Regions from separate parts of the Homo sapiens genome. Here region 2 is linked to region 1. Evidence: promoter capture Hi-C in human tissues and cell types (Jung and others, 2019). All regions are on one chromosome and are shown on one strand. Each heading gives the region's core, a stretch centred on a gene start or on the middle of the fragment in contact. The rest is flanking DNA. Distances are from core to core; before and after follow the strand shown. Region 1 holds the start of ERMAP (erythroblast membrane associated protein (Scianna blood group)). Region 2 overlaps FOXJ3 (forkhead box J3).

Region 1 (3,677 bases), core at 412-2,911:
TCTAGTTAAATAACCTACAGAAATTCTAAGGCAGGTGCCAAAGGAGACACCTAAAAGCTTTTCACTACAGCAATGTTTGTAATAGCAAAAAATACTATAAATAATTTAAATGTGCATCTCTGTAAGAATGAATAAATATACTAAGTAAAATGGATGCATAAAATAGACTATTATAAAAATTAATGAGAATAAACTAAATTCTTATATTGGCATGAATAGTTCTAAAAAACAATGTAAGCAAAATGCAAAATAAAATGCAGGAATTTTATTAATGTAAAAATTTAAAATACTACTGTATATTGTTCAAGGATATCTATTAATATATTTGAATGTAAAAGTATAAAAAAAAGTAGTTGTCCATGGAGAAGTAAAAGGATGTAAGACAGGAAATGAACAAAGCAGACAGATAAACAAAACAAAGAGGGAAAAAGAGACCAGCAAGATTTTCCCTGACATTAAATACTAAAATAAAATACTTATGTCTGTATGTGGCTCAATATTGGCAGGGTAAAGTTTAAAGCTTTTTATTCTCAAGTTGATTGTAATCGTTGAGAGAACAAAGGAACACACTGGTGAGTTTAAAGCTTGGGCCTCTACCTGGCATGAGTAGCTGCTTTCCGCACCAAATCCAGAACATCTGTACTGGGGGTGTCTGACACTTGCGTGCTCTCTCTCATTCTGACCCCTTCTTTCCCCTTACATATCATTTTTTTTCCTTTCTTCCTTCCCTTGGGTCTCTTACCACAAAAGCTCCGCACCAGACTGGGGTTCTGACACTAACTTGGCATGTGATTCTGGGCTGCCACCTCACCATTCTGAACCTCAGTGTTGTCCCCTCTAAACCTGGGAGAACACCCATCCTGCCTGGAGGCAAGTATGGCTCGCTGTCAGTTCTCCTTTCTGCTGTTTCTCTATTCCAGCATCATCTCCAGCAGACTACAGGCATACAGAGCCTCCGCCTTAATCTCACCTCTGCTCTTTGTCTCTGCTTCAGCTCCTGCTGGGCTGATTTCTGTTTGGCCTTCTCAACTCTGCTGACAGATTCTTTAACTTTGGTTTTTTCTTTACGTGCAGGTGGATCCATGGCTTGACTTCTGGATATTTCTTAGGAGGCTCTGATCTGGGTGGTACAGAAAGAGGCAGATCTTCAAAACAAAACAAAACAAAAAATACCCTGCCAGTTACTCCTCTAATCCTTTAGCTCCGCCCCATCCTTTGCCAGGTGAGGCAGAGTGGTCTGGTGGCAAGGGCGCTGGATGTGGGGGAGTAGGAACCGAGTCCCAAGGCCACAACCTCGCTGGGTGTCCCTGGGCAAGTCTCCTCCCCACTTTGAGCCTTAGTTTTCTGTCTGCAAAATGGGTTAAGTGTTTTCCTGGCCTCCCTCCAGGAGCTGCTGTGTGCGGGTGAAATGCAAAGACCCCTGTGAAAGCGTTGCCCACTGTGCGGCGTGCGGCACCCAGCGCGGAACCGTCCTAATGGGACGCTGAGACCCAGAGGGCGCCCAGGGTTTTCCCACTGCGGCCGGCCTAACTCCGCCGCAGCAGCCGCTCCTGGGGCCAGGGGGCCGGGCCCCATAGCCAGCCGGGCCCGCCCCCCACCGCCCGGCCCCCCGACCCCGCCCCGGCCCGCCCGGCCCCAGGGGACGGCCCCCGCCTCCTGCCCTCTTCCCTCTCCTGGAGGAAAATGGCGGTCGCTGGAGCCGCCGACCAAGAGGCTTGGGAGTCTGTACCTTTCCCGACCGGGCCACTGGAAGTTGGAGCCTCCGCCGAGTCGCAGACAACGCCTCCGGGAGGGTAATCCTCGCCTTCCCCCGACCACTGGACCCAGCGCTGCCTGCCCACCGCCCCTCGTCCTGGGCGGGGCCGCGCGCCGGGGGGAGGGGCGCAGGGCCGAGCGCCAGGAGGCTTCCGCCCGCAGGAGCGGCCGCGCGTGCGCAGAGAGGATGGCTGGAAACCCGCGTAGAGGGCGGGGCGGGGCAAGCCGGTGCCGGGGCGGGGCAGGGGCGGAGCCACACCGGGGTGGGTGGTGGTTACGGCTAACCAAAGCTTTTTCCCGTTATATTTTCTGCAACAGCTACTAGGTTTTAGAGGGTGAGATCCGAATCCTGGAATTGGAATTGCTCAGAATTCGAATTCCGAGGCTCAATTTCTTAATTCGAAAAGTGGGGATTGATGATTGCCACCTTCTTCATTCATGAGTTTATTGGGAGGATCAAGTGAGATCCCGTTTGCCACAGTGCTTTGAAAAAGGAAATCTTGACAGAAGTACCAATAGCCAGTATAAATACAGAGAACATTCACGTTCAACTGATTACCGAGGAGATGTAAATTAAAATAGCTGGCTGTAATTTTCCAGGTATTACATTAGCAAGGATTGACAAAAATGATAATAGCTACCTTACATTTGGGCTTACTATATTCCAGGCACTGTTCTTACAGCTTCACATTTATTAACTAATTCCTCATAATAAGTGTGTATAATGTATACGTGTATATTATTATCCCCATTTACACATAAGGGAACAGAAGCATTGAAAAGTTAAGTGAGTTGTCCCGGGTCACACAGCTTCTAAGTGCTGGAGCAAATATTTCAGCCAGGATTCATAGGACAATGGCCTTATCCAAAGTAAAACCCTGTTTGGGTCCACTATTTGTTCCTCTATCAAACTGGCAAGAATTGAAACAACTGATAGATGCTAAGCAAGCAATGAACTCAGCCCAGATGGACACACGCTTCCAGTCAAACTGTAAATCGTTAACAGCCTTTCTGGAGGTCAGTTTAGTACTAGGTATCAAAAGCCTTAAAAGTGAGCACAATGCCCCAAAAAGACAAATACTGCATGTTTCCATTCATATGAAGTATCTAAAGCAATCAAAGTCTAAGAAACAGAAAGTAGAATGGTGACTGCCAGTGGCTAGGAGAGAGGGAAAAGAGGAATTGTTTAAAGGGTATAGAATTTTAGGTTTGTAAGGTGAAAAAGTTCTAGAGATCTACTGCACAATGTTTATTTTTTATTTATTTAATTTTTAAAAAATAGATGGGGTCTTGCTCTGTCACCCAGGCTGGAGTGCAGTGGTGTGATCATAACTCACTGTAACCTGGGCTCAAGCAATCCTCCCACCTCAGCCTCCAAAGTATCTGGGACTACAGGCACACACCATCATGCCTGGCTAATTTTTTAAAATTTTTTTGTAGAGATGGAGTCTCACTGTGTTTCCCAGGGTGATCTGGAAATCCTGGGCTCAAGTGATCCTCCTGCCTCAGTCTCCCAGAGTGCTGGGATTACAGATGTGAGCAATTGCGCCCAGCTTTTCCAAAATTTCTACAGTAAACGTTTATACTTTAGCAATCAGAGGAAAGTACATTAAATGTCTTTTTAAAAACCCTATACAAATGCTGATTCGATTATTATTAATAAAAGTAACCAAGTCAGAGTCTATTTCAGAAATCTTGATGTAGTACTGGTATTTTACATTTGTGTCACATGGTATGGTTTATAACGTTCATATAAGCTATGAACTAGATTACAGCTGAAGACACGGCAGGACCTTTAGAAGCCAGCTAAAAACAAACCAGCTATAGGGAATGGAGGAGTGGAAAAGCCACATGGAAGACTGGAAAAGTAGTGGTGCCACTGAGCCACTGTTGAAAGTGGAGAAGGTGTGATGAGTTGGTTT
Region 2 (4,033 bases), core at 861-3,360, 490 kb before region 1:
TAAGTAGAATGTCATTGTTATAAATATAAAAACAACATCTGGTTCCATATAACAAAGCTATTTCCATATTCCAACAGATGGCCCACAGTAATAATGCTCTGCTGATCTGGTTATAACAAATTCTATTAAATCAAAAATCCTGTACAGCAGATGCCTTTTCCAATTTCAGAGTAAGTCAATCTCTTTAACCAAAACACTATGCTTTGGTTCTTATTTGTGCACTAAAATCATGTTATGCCAATTAAGATGGTCAAATTTTGTGACAGTTGTTATAAAACGCCACTGTGGTGTTTTCTGGGTTTTGGAGTGGAAGAGGTAAAGAATAACCCCCTCTAGGACTGAAAGGCTAACTGTTCAAAATGGAAAACAAAAATTCACAGTTAAAGGAAGGCTGAGGAGAGAGGTAAAAGTGAGCTTTAGCTGTCTCAAGCCAAGGTTTCTGAATAGTGGCAATGTGGAAAGCTAAGTGACTAACAAAGCCAACAGTGAAGATCAGTGAAAATAATGTAATTTCTGAGCTGAGAAGTTTTGAGCAGGGACAAACAAAAAAATGTCTAAACAATATGTATCTTTGTACACTGTAGTGTTAAGTCCACTTTTAAAAGAAATGCGGATGCGATGTCAAGTTAAAATTGCTGTTTAACTGTTTCCCCAACTACATTCAAAATCAAATCTTCATATTCTATCATGCCCTTACTTGAAATATTATCCTCTATTAATTCGTAACACAGTAAACAGAACAGTGTAGTGATTAAGAGCCACAGAGTTCTGAAAATAGACTACAAGGGTTCAAATCCTGGCTCTTTCCATTCCTAGCTATGTTCCCTTAGTCAAATCAACCTCTCTGTGCCCATTTCCTCATCTGTAAAACTACCGTATTTATAAAATTTACAACTACAATAAACTTATAAAATCTACGATATATTTATAAAACCTACTTATAAAATTTATAAAATATTAAGGGTTGTAAGATATGGATAATGAATGTAGAGTACTTAGAACACTTTTAGGCCCATAGTAAGGCTTCAAAAAATGTTAGCTATTATTATCATTACATTATCATCACATGAACTCCATGAAAGTTCTGAAAGAAAAGAAATATGAAATGATTTGTCTAAAACACAGAACAAACAAGTGGCAGAATCTAGGGAAAAAAATCTTCATTTTAAGTCCGGAAGAAAATCAGTGGGCTGACTGCAGTGGCTCACGCCTGTAATCCTAGCGCTTTGGGAGGCCAGGGTTGGCGGATCACTTGAGCCCGGGAGTTAGCGACCAGCCTGGGCAACATAGCGAAACCACTTCTCTACAAAAAATACAAAAATTAGCTGAGCATGGTGGCGCGCACCTGTAGTCCCAGCTACTTAGGGGGCTGAGGTGGGAGGATCACTGGGGCCCAGGAGGTTGAGGTTGCAATGAGCCATGATCGTGCCACTGCACTCCAGCCTGGGCAAGAGTGAGACCCTGTCTCAAAAACAAAACAAACAAACAAAAAAAAACAGTGATTCTTTGAGTCAGTACATTTTCCAGTCCCTCTAAGTCTCCAGGAAATTACATGAGAATTTTTAAGTTAAAACAGCAGCACAGAGTAGTGGAAATAGCACAAATATGAACTAAGAAGACCTACCTGCTCCACCAATTACTTAAGTGTACAACCCTAAGCAGGTCACCTAAACTTCAAATTGCTCATCTTTAAGATATTCTGCCTTTATCACAGGGTTGTTGAGATCAAATTAGAGAATGTATGAGAAAATGTATATAAACCAATAAAACACTATATGAATGTTCAAGGGCCATGTCTTATTCATCTTTATATCCCCAATGCTTAGCAAAATGCATGGCAGAGGTTATAATCTAAAAGAAGGCCATGTGAGGGGTTGGCAGGGTGAAGATTCAATGAAAATGGGGAGGAGTTTAAAAGAATTAAGAAACTTGACCAGGCGCGGTGGCTTACACCTGTAGTCTCAGCACTTTGGGAGGCCGAGGCAGGCAGACCACTTGAGGTCAGGAGTTCAAAGACCAGCCTGGCCAACATGGTGAAACCTCGTCTCCACTAAAAACGCAGAAATTAGCGGGGCATGGTGGTGCACGCCTGTAATCCCAGCTACTGTGGAGGGTGAGGTGGGAGAATCGCTTGAACCTGGGAGGCAGAGGTTGCAGCGAGCCGAGATGGCGCCACTGCACTCCAGCCTAGGCGACAGAGAGAAACTCTGTCTCAAATAATAATAATAATAATGAAAGAATAAGAAACTCAAATGTCCATCAACTAAAGCAATGGCTATCAACGTAGTATATACATACAGTGGAATATTATTTGGCAATAAAAAGGAATGAAATACTGATACATGCTACATGGATGGGCCTTGAAACATATGCAAGTGAAAGAAGTCAGACACAAAAGACCGTATGTTGTATGAAATGCCCACAACAGGCATTTGGAATTATCAACATCTCTACAAGATTGTAAGTACATTAGTGGCTGCCTGGAGGTGAGGGTACGGGGAGTGACTGCCAATGGGTACAAGGCTTTTTTTTGAAATGCTGTCCTAAAAATGACTGTGGTGATGGTTGCACAACTCTGTGAATACACTAAAAACCACTGACTTGTATACTTTAAATGTGTGAATGAAATGGTATGTGAATTATACTTCAAGAAAGCTTTTTTAAAAAAAAAAAAGAATAAAAGTTTAAGGAGAGAAGCGTTAAAGTATAAAATCACTGGCTTTGGAACATAAGTTTGTTTCTTTTTTTAAGGAAATACTAATAATTACCATATCAGATACTAATGTCTCTACAAATCCTGTGAAAAACAAATCTGGCATCTATTCTTACCCCTCCTTTCAATTTTCTCTCTAAGTTTACAAATTATCTCTTCTGCTTTAATTCAATTGTCTTTTCATTGTAGTCACTGTTTCTGAACTTCTACACCGCATTTGAAACTGTCAACACCCTGCCCTTGTAGAAAATCTTCCTATCCTGGAAATGATGCACTTTCTGGTTCTTCTCAGAATGCTATTAGCCTATTTCAAGACCCAAAATTCCAAACCTCAAAGCTCTTTCTTCATTATACTACTACCCTCCCAACACACATCTACTGATGTGTTTTACTAGCATCTATATCCCTGGTCAGTGCAAAATCTACCTTTCATCTAACCGTTCATTGTATATGGGAATAATTACATGCATAAGGTTAAGCAACTTGCCCAAAGTCCCTTCTGATTTTAATACCTTATTATGAAGATTTAATGAATTAAACAAACGTAGGCGCTTAGAATACCTGTCATACAGTAAGTAAATGTTAGCTATTATTTTATTCCTACAACCACTATCTTATATCAGACCCTCATCAGCTTATTCCTAAAATTCTCCATAAGCACTCTAATCAGTCTCTCCACTCCCAGGACACTCAGCTGAAACAAAAACCTTCCTCAGGAACAAGATGCATCATCTTACTCTCATTCTTTAGAACCCATTGTGGTACCCTATCAAACTAAACCCTCTATCCTTGAAAGATCCTCCATCAATACCCCCTCACCAATCCTAAACTCATTTATTATTATTCACCAACACAGATGATCTGACAGTCAAGCTCCTTGATATCATTTGTACATTGCCACTTCTCTCGCTTTGCACAGGCCCCTTCACTCTCCTGAAATACACCTCTTTCCCTTTGGAAATTTGTATCTTTCTCAAATGTCCCTTACACTTTTGACCTTGGTTGTACTGTTATCCCAAGGAGAAGTTTGATGCAGTTTGATAATTCTGAATGATGTACATGTTTCCCGAACAGAAAAAGAAACTCTGTTCTTTCGATATAAGTTGAAGCTTTCCAAGAGACCACGTATCTTATTCGTCTCTTCATACAGACTTCACACATAGATAACTCGGTACTTTACAGAAGTACACAAATGCTGACTTACCAAAAAAAAACAAAAAGCCTCAGTATGTATCAGAACAACATTCTCCATTTTCCACTGCCCCACCCATACTTAGCATAATGAAAAAATATAATCTAAAATCTATATTTAAATATTTT

Evidence for each region. Contacts are between HindIII fragments. The study calls those that stand out against the background at their distance.
Region 2: a fragment that was not itself captured here is called in contact with the fragment with the promoter of ERMAP in region 1 in 2 of the 25 tissues and cell types used here (hippocampus and lymphoblastoid cells).

The regions. Positions count from the first base shown.
Region 1 is chr1:42,815,461-42,819,137 of GRCh38, forward strand. ERMAP (erythroblast membrane associated protein (Scianna blood group)) reads left to right here and starts at 1,662. Exons shown (of 12, transcript NM_001017922.2): 1 at 1,662-1,793. It overlaps SVBP (small vasohibin binding protein), which reads right to left and starts at 1,937. Exons shown (of 3, transcript NM_199342.4): 1 at 1,730-1,937; 2 at 971-1,120. The coding sequence starts at 1,084. RefSeq lists silencers at 811-880, 1,441-1,640, 1,791-2,080. The HindIII fragment of the contact is 4,586 bases long and covers 289-3,677 here.
Region 2 is chr1:42,329,168-42,333,200 of GRCh38, forward strand. All of the region lies in intron 1 of FOXJ3 (forkhead box J3), which reads right to left. Among named protein-coding and RNA genes, the nearest start is that of FOXJ3, 4.1 kb to the right of the region's middle. The HindIII fragment of the contact is 5,072 bases long and covers 1-4,033 here.